3 separate regions of the Homo sapiens genome follow, and regions 1 and 3 are each linked to region 2. Evidence: promoter capture Hi-C in 16 types of primary human blood cells and fetal thymus (Javierre and others, 2016). All regions are on one chromosome and are shown on one strand. The core of a region is centred on a gene start or on the middle of the fragment in contact, and the rest is flanking DNA. Distances in the headings are between cores, read along the strand shown.

Evidence for each region. Contacts are between HindIII fragments. The CHiCAGO score rates a contact against its expected background, and 5 or more counts as called.
Region 1: a contact is called between a fragment that was not itself captured here and the fragment with the promoter of BCAS2 in region 2, in 1 of 17 cell types (fetal thymus). The highest score is 6.8, in fetal thymus.
Region 3: a contact is called between the fragment with the promoter of PTPN22 here and the fragment with the promoter of BCAS2 in region 2, in 2 of 17 cell types (total CD8 T cells and naive CD4 T cells). The highest score is 5.4, in total CD8 T cells.

Annotation. Positions count from the first base shown.
Region 1 is chr1:115,100,454-115,104,140 of GRCh38, reverse strand. LINC01765 (long intergenic non-protein coding RNA 1765) reads right to left here. Exons shown (of 2, transcript XR_947722.3): 2 at 1,460-1,893. Among named protein-coding and RNA genes, the nearest start is that of LINC01765, 2.6 kb to the right of the region's middle. The HindIII fragment of the contact is 6,588 bases long and covers 1-3,687 here.
Region 2 is chr1:114,579,331-114,582,980 of GRCh38, reverse strand. It overlaps BCAS2 (BCAS2 pre-mRNA processing factor), which reads left to right and starts at 1,366. Exons shown (of 7, transcript NM_005872.3): 1 at 1,366-1,482; 2 at 1,590-1,682. The coding sequence starts at 1,390. It overlaps DENND2C (DENN domain containing 2C), which reads left to right. Exons shown (of 21, transcript NM_001256404.2): 21 at 1-131. It overlaps LOC105378914 (a long non-coding RNA gene), which reads right to left and starts at 1,138. Exons shown (of 3, transcript XR_947719.4): 1 at 582-1,138; 2 at 343-456. The HindIII fragment of the contact is 8,807 bases long and covers 522-3,650 here.
Region 3 is chr1:113,870,040-113,873,417 of GRCh38, reverse strand. PTPN22 (protein tyrosine phosphatase non-receptor type 22) reads left to right here and starts at 1,706. Exons shown (of 21, transcript NM_015967.8): 1 at 1,706-1,881. The coding sequence starts at 1,795. All of the region lies in intron 3 of AP4B1-AS1 (AP4B1 antisense RNA 1), which reads right to left. RefSeq lists enhancers at 1,701-1,960, 2,519-2,568. The HindIII fragment of the contact is 7,976 bases long and covers 1,012-3,378 here.

The DNA of each region.
Region 1 (3,687 bases), core at 1,188-3,687, 520 kb before region 2:
TGTCTTCAGACTGGGTTCCTCGTAGTAGCAAAATGGCTGCAGCACTTCTAGGTCATACATGTGTTTAATACTGAGCAAGAGTCCAGAACCTCAGTCTGATTGAATCAATGTAGGTTATATAGCCATCCAAGGCCAGGGAAATGGGATTATGATGAATGGCTTAGGGCAATCAGGGCTTATCCCTGAAGGTGGTTGGGATCTACCCAACTCAAAACATATGGCTGCTACACCGTAAGACATGGTGGAGGTAACCAGCATTTTCACACTGCAGTTGAGGTTATAAACTCTGTTCTGCCCCTCACCTCCTGCAGTATTCTCTCTGCCCTGTAGCAACACAAGGAAGAAGGCAACTGTCCTTTCCTTTGAATCCTCCAGAGAAAACACCACTCTCACAGGCATTGTGGGTCAGATTCACAACAGGGCAGGTAGTTACAGAGCAGCACAGCTCAGCACATATTTTTCAATGTAACATCCAGCATCTTGTTTCTTAAAGGTTCCTGACTATCTCTGTAACTGGTATTTTCTCACTGACACTGTTTTAATCTTGGGGTCTAAGCTACCACTTTGTTGTTGACTTTAATCTACATTTCCCTGGTTTCTGGGATTCAGAACATTATCGTATGTTTATTGTCCAGGTGGATTTACTCTTTTGCAAAATACTCTTTCAAGTCTTTTTGCTCATTTTTATGTGCAACAGGTACATATAAAAGGTGGATGGACTTTTATATAAAATGTAAAATAATCTGTCTTTTCTTAATTCTGTGTAGGAATTTTTAAAATATTCTCGATACTGGTTTTTTGTTGAATGGTTGCAAATATCATCTTCCATTTTATGGCAAGCCTCTTTACTCTCTTAACAGTATTTTCTGATAAATGAGGATTCTTAATTTTAACATAAAAACTCTTTTTCTTTATGGTGAGCAGGTACTTTTGTGACTAGCTTAAAACACATTTGCCTATCTGGAAGTCATATAGATATTTTCCTATATTACCTTCTGATGTTAGTTTATTGCTGCCTAACAAATGTACCCAAAGCTCAATGATGGAAAACAAAAATTATTTTGTTCTCATTCAGGTGCCTGGGTCAGCTGGTCCAGGATGGGCTCACTTTATCTTGGCTGGGCTTGGCTCCAGGCTGGGTTTGGCTGGGGCAGCTTCACCAGAGAACTCTACCCATGTGTCTCTCATCTCCCTGTCAAGGTCAGTGGGCTGGATCAGGCATATCCTTCTCATGGGGATGGCATAAGTGGAAGAGGGCAAGCAGAGATGTTCAAGGTCCCTTGAGGCCTAGGCCCAGAATGGCACACTGTCACTTCCACCAAAGGACTTAAGCCAAACATAGAGTCCAGGGAGGAAAAACATAATCTGCCCCTTTTATGAGAGGAACTGCAAAGTCACCTGGGAAAGGGCATGGGCACAGGGAGGAGAGAAGAATCGGGGCCAAAAAAGCAATAAACAATATTCTCTATAAACTTTATATTAATAGTTTTACCTTCCATTTAAGTATATACCCCAAATGGAGTTGATTTTTGTGTGTGATGTGAGATTAGGGTTAATTGTTTTTACATGGGGATACCCAGTTGCCCTAGTGTCATTCTTTGAGGACATTTTCCCACAGTGCATAGCAGTGGTACTTTCATCATAAACAAACTGTCCACATACACAAAAGTCAGTCTCTGGGCTCTTTTTCCTTTTAGTTTTTTTTTTTTTTTTTCTCTCCCAGTGCCGATACTACACTGTCCTAAATACTGTAGTTGCTTATAAATCTTGATATCTAGTAGAGCGAGTTCAGCCCACTTTGTTCTTCTTCAGTGATGTTTCAGCTATTCTTGATCCTTTGAATTTCCATATAAATTTTTCAGCATCATCTTGTCACATGCTGCCATGAAAAACCTACAAAAAATATCTTTGTGAAGATTTTTTATTGTAAATGCTTTGAATCTATACATCAAATTGGAGAGAATTGACATTTTTTAAATGTCGGTTTTGCTAATTCAAACTTAGCATATCTCTCCATTCATTAACAGCTTCCTTAACATTACCCAACAAAGACTTTAATTTTTCCCTGTAAAGTTCTTACATGTCTTTTCTAGAGAATAGATACTTCTTATGCTATTTTAAGCTATGTTCTTTTAAATTTTAGTTTCTGATTCATTACTGATCTAATGAAAAGATATTCTCACATTTATTTTTATCATCAGAAAATTTAATAAGCGCTCTTATTAATTCTAGTAACCTATTATTTTATGTAGAAAATCAAAATAAACACACAATTAGATCATCTGCAAATAATGACAACTTTCTTTCTTTCTTTCTAAGCCTTATACATTTAATTTCTCTTATTGAGCTCTCTGGTACAGTGATGAGTAGAAGTAGTGATAGCAGGAATGTGTCTTGTCACCAAAATGTTATCTTGTAGCAATGAATTCCCATCTATACCTAGTTGCCTAGAATCTTTACAACAAATCGATGTTGAATTATCAAAAGATTTTTCTGTATCTACTGAGATGACCACAGATTTTTCTCCTTTATTAATGTGGTAGGTTATACTGATTGAAATGTAAATCAACATTGTATTCCTGCCCTATACAGTCATGATGTATTAGGCTTTCTATGTATTAATGCATACCTTTTTAAATTTGGGAGAGTATATAGTAGGTGTATATATTTATGGTGTACATGAGATGTTTTGATACAGGCATGCAATGTGAAATAAGCACATCATGGAGAAGGGGGTGTCCATCCCCTCAAGCATTTGTTCTTTGAGTTAGAAACGATCCAGTTACACTCTTTATTTTAAAATGTACAATTAAGTTATTATTGACTATAGTCACCCTATTGTACTATCAAATAGTAGGTCTTCTTCATTCTTTCTATATTTTTTTGTACTTATTAACTATTCCTACCTTCCCCTCCAACTCCCCACTCCCTTTCCCAGCCTCTGGTAACTATCCTCCTACTCTATAGGTCCATGAGTTCAATTGTTTTCATTTTTAGATCCCACAAATAAGTGAGATATTACTATTTTGTTGACTATTATTTTGCTGAAGATTTTTGCATCTATGTTCATAAGTGAAATTGACCTATAATTTTCCTTTTCATTACTGTCCTGTCTTTTTCAGGTTTAGGTTTCGAGATCTTGCTACAAGTCTCATAATTTTAGTATTTTTTAAATGCTCCCTCTTTTTCTACTCTCTGGTAGAGTTTGCATAAGATTGGAATTACTTCATACCTAAACGTTTGGCAGAACACACCACTGAAGGACAATCTGGGCTGGACTTTTTTGTTTTTGTGAAAAGATCATATACAATTTTTTAATGCTTACAAGGCTATTCAAACTTCTAATTTTCATTGAGTGCATTCTGATGTTACTTTTCAAAGGAATCAGTCCATTTTACCTACCTTTCAAATTTATTTGCAGTTGTTTATATTATCCTATTATTATCTAAATCTCTGCAGATCTGGAGTTATTAATCTTTTTTTTTTCCTGACATTGGTTATTTGTGCAATCTCTCTTTTTCTTGATTATTTTCAACAGAAGTTACTGATATATTTAGGTATAAATTTACCATCTCATTGTATGTTTTCAATTTAGTCTACCTGTTTTACATTTCTTTTGTTCTCTGTGATGGTTAATTTTACATGTCAACTTGACTAGGCCAGGGGGGCCCCAAATATTTGGTCAAA
Region 2 (3,650 bases), core at 117-2,616:
CTTCATTTCCTTAGGTCTGTTGTGTTTTCTGTAAAGTGTTAGGAATTCTGGATATTTTTGTAAAAGAATCAAGATTTGTATAAAATGTTGTTTACAGATCTTTTAATGAATAAATACATAAACCCCCCACAGATCCCTTGGAGAATTCTTTAAGATCTTTTATGTCACTTAAATCTATAGCTAGCACATTTACCTAATGGTACTTCGGTAATAAGAATTAGTCTTAGACTGACCAGGCTTAATAACGGAGGTCAACATTTCCAGGCTCTTGGCAGACAAAGGCTGGGTCTAGACTGCACACTGGGCAGGGCATATAGTCTGACAACTTTATTTGGTTTTTACCTGCTTAATCAAAGGGAGGCTGCTTAGTCCAGGAGCCATGCAGAAGAGAGTGCATGGGCAGCAGCTTGAGTGGTTCGGAGGCAGTGAGGAATGCCATTCTATTACCGTTAAGTCCTAAAGGCAAAATGACAGGATTTTTAAGGAACTGAGGTTCCTTTTGATACGCAGACCATAAAGCTTCACAATTTTAATTGGAGACTGGCGCCCAATTCTAGAGTCTCTTTAAAAAATGTACTTACCCAATGCAAAGGTTTTAAGGGCACCGAGGGGGAAGGATAGTTGGGGTACAGCAAGGAAGTAAAAGAGGAATGACCCGGGGTGCAGTGGCTCACGCCTGTATTCCCCACATTTTGGGAGGCCAGGAGTTCGAGGCTAGGCTTGGCAACATAGAAAGGCTCCATCTCTACAAAAAAAATTAAAAATTAGCCAGGCATGGTGGTGTGCACCTCTAGGCCCAGCTACTCGGGAGGCTGAGGTGGAAGGATCGCTTGGGCCCGGGGGGTTGAGGCTGCAGTGAGCTATGATCACGCCACTGCACTCCAACCTGGGCAGCAGAACAAAGACCCTGTGTCTACAATAAAAAAGGAAAAAAGTCTCGCACAGAGGAAGAGAAGATTAAGGGGAGAAGGTGGGAGTAAGCAGAGGTGGGAAACCAGTTTATCTCTCCCCGCCAAATGCTGCAGCCAGTTCCCTCCAAAAGTGTTAAGGGGCTCCCTTTCCAGATATCAATGTTTTGGAGGAAACGAAAAGCCCCAACTTCAAATCGCCGCCATTCGCAGGCAAAAAAAGGGGCAGTAAGCAGAGGACAGGAAATTGAGGCCTTTCGCTGACGCAGACAAGCCAAGACGTTACGTCACGTCCGCCCAAAACAAACCAGCCCGGCAATTTCTAGATACCGGGCGGACCCGCCTTCAAAATTAGCAACTGAGCATGCACTAACGTCAATACGGAGGGAACGTGATTACATCAGTGTCAGGCGCCGGCGTAATTAAATATAACTGAGTTTACGCAGACGCAGAAAACGCAGGCAAACCTGAGGTCCTCAGAATGGCGGGCACAGGTTTGGTGGCTGGAGAGGTTGTGGTGGATGCGCTGCCGTATTTTGATCAAGGTTATGAAGCCCCTGGTGTGCGGGAAGCGGTGAGTGCGGGGTGTCTTTGTAGCTGACTCACTGCTAGCTGGCTCGGTACTGAAAGAAACATGTTACAATTTGCCACTTCTACCCTGGTCCCTATTCTCTTTCTTAGGCTGCAGCGCTGGTGGAGGAGGAAACTCGCAGATACCGACCTACTAAGAACTACCTGAGCTACCTGACAGCCCCGGATTATTCTGCCTTTGAAGTAAGTATGTCTTGAGCCTAGGTGTGAACGAGAATTCCTGTGAACCTTTATTTTGGATTGAGAGCTTTAAATTCCAGTTTTAACCATTGCCTGCATAGCTACTACTTACCTACTGTATAGGTGTCAGTCTATTGAAAACAACTAGATAGATAAGTCTTCTCCGAGGTTCTTATTCTAAGATCCATAGGAAGACTTTCTGGGGCTCCACAACTCACTTAATGCAAAAATTTGTGGCTACCATTCTTTGAGATAGGATCCATGCGTAAATTCTCAAAGGGACCCTCTCCTGCCAAGATTCACTCTACAGCAAGTGATCTAGGGTTTTTTAATATGTATAAGCCTAATTACCTAAGCTCTTTAGAACCACTGGAGAGTGGCATATTAAAGTCTAGTTATTTACCAAATGTATGTGATACGACTGAAAGGACAAACCATATCCAAGTGTATACTACTTTTTTCTCAGCCTTCTCCTTTTTTCTGTAATCTATCCGATGTTTTTATTAACACATTTCTGATTAATGTAGGCAATAATTTTCACTGATATGAATACTTTACAAGTGCTAGGTGCCATTCTAGATTCTGAGATCATAGAGATATATGGGGTTTCTTTTTTAATATATTTTGTTTTCTTTTAATTTTTCTTTTCTTTATTTAAGACAAACATCCTCTCCAAAAAAGATAGGGTTTCTGAATACAGAAAAATACAATACAGTGAGGAGCTAGATATATAAAACAAAAAGTTTACAATAGTATGTATAAATGTGTAATAATATGTAAAGGACCTATAGCGGAGGGTATGTATAAGGACAAGAGGATTAGAGAAGGGAGTGTCCATGATTGCCTAAGGAGTCAGATGCTGTTCTACTCCACACATTGAGTATGATACTATTTTAAATGTATAACCTTGAAGTACACCCAGGATTCTAGTTAGGGTCTAGTTAGCTAAATGAAATGTAAGATATCATTTCTAAATTATTGGATTCAAGTATTTCAGTATGTACAGCTTGGAGGATTTTTTCCCATTATACCTAATCGTTTATTTATGAAAGGATTGTATTATTAAAAGGCAGTATTTAGCTGGGTGTGGTGGCTCACACCTGTAATCCCAGCACTTTAGGAGGCTGAGGTGTGAGGATCACTTGAGACCAGCCTGGGCAACATAGTGAGACCCTTTCTCTACAAAAGAAAAATTAAAAAGTTAGCCAGGCATGATGGCATGCACCTGTAGCCCCAGCTACTCAGGAGGCCAAGGTGGGAGGATCACTTGAGCCTGGGAGTTCAAGACTGCTACAGTGAGCCATGATAATGCCATTGCACTCCAGCCTGGCAATAGAGTGAGACCCTGTCTCAAAGGGAAAAAAAAAAAAAAAGATATTATTTACATTAAAGTAACATGAAAAAATTGTTAGTTAAGTTTGTTGTTGTTTTTGTTTGAGACGGAGTCTCATTACGTCACCCAGGCTGGAGTGCAGTGGTGCCATCTCTGCTCACTGCAACCTCCACCTTCCGGGCTCAAGTGATTCTCCTGCCTCAGCCTCCCGAGTAGCTGGGATTGCAGGTGCCTGCCACCATGCCTGGGTAATTTTTGTATTTTCAGTAGAGACGGGATTTTACCATGTTGGCCAGGCTGGTCTTGAACTCCTGGCCTCAAGTGATCCACCCACCTCAGCCTCCCAAAGTGTTGGGATACAGGTGTAAGCCACCATGCCCAGCCTTGGCTGAGTTTTAAGTAGAAGACGTATGTTCCTATGAACGTGTTTTCCTATGCTTTTTCTAAATATTTGTACCTAGGTGTAGATGTTAACCACATTAAGAACTAAGTACAGTAATGCTTCCTTATTGGACTGATTTCTGAAGGTTTCAGATAACTGCATTCAATCACAGACTTTTTAAAATACTTTTGCCAGTTTTTTTCCTTCTCTCTTAAATACCTTTGTAATTAGTTTACTGATGATTTAATTAGTAAAC
Region 3 (3,378 bases), core at 457-2,956, 710 kb after region 2:
CTAAAATTATGATAATTTTAGAAAGCAAACTTACACAATTGATTCTTTTTTGCTTCTTTTAGTCTTTAACTATGTACACACTTTTACATGGTTTTAGTTATTACAAACTTGAAATTTTGTATTTTTATAAATCAAAGATTTCCCATATTTTATGTTTTAAAATAGCCAAAGTAAACATCACGTTACTTAGAGCAGCAAGAAATTCTCTCTTAATTCTAGATGGGGATAATTTAAGAAATATACTATTCCTAACAAATATTGCTGAAGAATGAGGGTTTATTTTAATTTATGTATACTGGGATTGAGTTTCTTAATTTGAAATATTGTCTTTAAGTTGTCTATAACCAAGATATCTCGATGATCTTTCTTTTTTTTTTGCAGTACTTAGTAAAGAGCATGCAGTATCTTTAATGTTCAGATTAAGCAGTGTTCAGAATCATGATATCCTGAAGGAAGTTTGAATAATGTTGCAAAACAGAAAGGATTGCTAATATCTTAAATAGAGGAAGTCCTAACAACACATTTCCCAGTTTTCTTCAGGATCAAGACTAATTTTGTTAACATTTGTTGAACTTCTGCCTTCAATAAAGATGATATACTGATTTTTGGATGTTCTCACACTGAATTAGGCACTTGGGTAGACTTGTACCCATTGAGAGGTTATGCAAGCTCAAATGTGGAAAGTTTTTCTAGAAGAGCCTGCCTTTCAGGGCCAAAATGCCACAGGCACAGCATAACTTCCTGAAACAAATTTATTTCCTAAGACATTGGTTGCAGAGTAGAAATGTGTTCTTTAGAAACAGTTCTTCAGGCTTTCTGCCCTAAAAGTTACAATGTTGTCAGCAAGGTGGTTGATTTTACTTTCTTTTTGTTCCATCACAGTTTACCAGCATTACATATGCAGGGTATTGAGCTAACTGTCTGGTCAGGTGCTCCTTGTGGGGGCCACTTGCTCTAGATCCTATATAGACCAACACTCTTAGTCTTTATATCCAGAACCCAAGTGAAGCTTCAAAGGTTACTGGGAGGGTTGAAGAGGTGCTGAAATCAACACTTCCCTTAATGGAGGTCAGCACTTCCCCAGTCCTGGGAGAGACACAGACTGTCAGAAGCATCTGACTTTGCTTCATTCAAAAGGGAGTTTGAGGTATATATAGCAGACTTAAAAGTTATGAATAAAAATACCTTCTGTGATGAACAGAAGTTTCTCATTGATCACACTGACAAGAAACCTTTCGATGAACAGTCCGGGTAGAAGACATGTCACTCACTCTAAACAGTGTCTGTCTTCTTTCCTGGGCCTAACTGAACTTTGCAGAGTTCATTTGGGACATAAGGAAACAGAAGGTGTCAACTTGGCCCTTGTGCTCACTGGGAAAATGGGGAGAGACAGAACTCATTCAGGAGACCTGTAATTCTGTTCTTTCTCTGGGAGGCAAGAAGAAAGGTGAGTTTTGCATATGGGTGATGGAATGGAATAATCTCAGTTAAGCAGACCACACTTTACGTTCTAGTTAGCCTCTTGTTTGTTAAAAATTTGAATTGTAACCAGGTTCCTTTGCTGAGAAGGAAGGCACTAGGGCCCTGGAGTGAGATGATGGCTGTGTTATGTGACCACAGAAGGTGGTTACGTACTAATTTCCTCTAGGGCTTGTGATGAAGTCAGTAAACCACAGCCTTCAGCATGCTCTGCTCAGGCGGCAGCAGTGGCTTTTTGGAGGTGTCTCGGCCATGACACACATTTGACATGCCCTCCCTCAACCTACTTATAGACTATTTTTCTTGCTCTGCAGCATGGACCAAAGAGAAATTCTGCAGAAGTTCCTGGATGAGGCCCAAAGCAAGAAAATTACTAAAGAGGAGTTTGCCAATGAATTTCTGGTGAGTCCTGTATGTGACCCTCTCAGGGTAGTTACATACACTATTTAACTGACTATGGGGGTCCAATTTTCCGAGACCAAATTGCTCTTGGGATAAAGTAAATATGAGACCTTGGCGGGGAAGACAGAAAAAAAAAAGTTTGACTTCTCTGAGTGGTTTGCATGTATTTCAGGTATTCTCTCAAAATTACTGGTTTTAATATTTTGTTTGCTAGTTCTTTGGAGTTTGGTTAGGAATCCTACAGAAGACATATACAACTCCAGATGTAAAAACACTAATATTAATTGAACATCCAGATTTCCCCAGGTATCTAAGTTGTGGTTTATGCTTTATATTACTAATTTTAATTAATATTAAGAAGAAAGAGACCAATGTTAACTTTTCATGCAATATTACATTTTTAGCCTCCCCTCTGGGATTCTATTTGGTTGACAAAGGTTTTTGAAGAGCACCAAAACTACCCACTGCCACAGTTTTTTTTGTTGTTGTTGTTTGTTTTTTTAAGATTCAGAATCTTACTCTGTCACCCAGGCTGGAGTGCAGCAGTGCAACCACAGCTCACTGTAGCCTTGAACTCCTGGCCTCAAGTGATTCTCTTGCCTCAGCCTCCTGAGTAGCTGGGGCCACAGGTGTGTATCGCCATGCCTGGCTAATTTAAAAAAAAATTGTTTTTTTCTTTTTTGTAGATACGAGCCTTGCTTTTTTGCCCAGGCTTGTCTCGAACTCCTGGCTTCAAGCAATCCTCCCATCTTGCCTCCCAAAGTGCTGGGATTACAGGCATGAACCACTATGTCTGGCCATCATTTTTCTTTTCTTTTTCATATGAAAAATATATTATAACATGTGTTTTTTCAATAACAGGGCTTCCTTAACTTCTTTTGCTTGGAGAAGTGGAATGGCTAGGATGGAGAGTAGAGACAAGTGTAGGTCAAGGAGAGAAACATGAGTACAAGGTAGCTTCAGGTTGGGTGGATTAGATTACCCAGAAGAACAGTGAATCTCCTTTGAGAGAACTGTGATTATTGATGCAATGGCAGCTGGGTAGGCCTCATTCACCCTACAAGCTGAGATATCAGATAACATAGGGTGTCTAATAGTACCTATCATGTATTTTAGAATGCTTACAGCTGGCGTTTCAGAGATATAAGAATTTTAAACCTTAGCTCTTCAGTTGTGAAGAAATGGGTGGAAAGAGGGGAACTGAAGTACAAACCTGAAATTAAATCATGATTTTTTTTCACCAAATTATGAAGTATTTGACATGTTCTTAAATCTCTCTGTTTTCTAACTTATAAAATGGGGATAATAATACATGTCCTACCTATCCTCACAGGATTGTTGTGATGATTAAATATCAATAACAATCATTAAATGTGGTCATTTATTGAGTACCATTTATTGAGCACTTAGTATGTACCAAGTTCAGTTCTAAGCACTAAAAATACAGCGGTGAACAAAAAGAACCAAAACCTTTGCCTCCTGGAGCTAACACTCTGG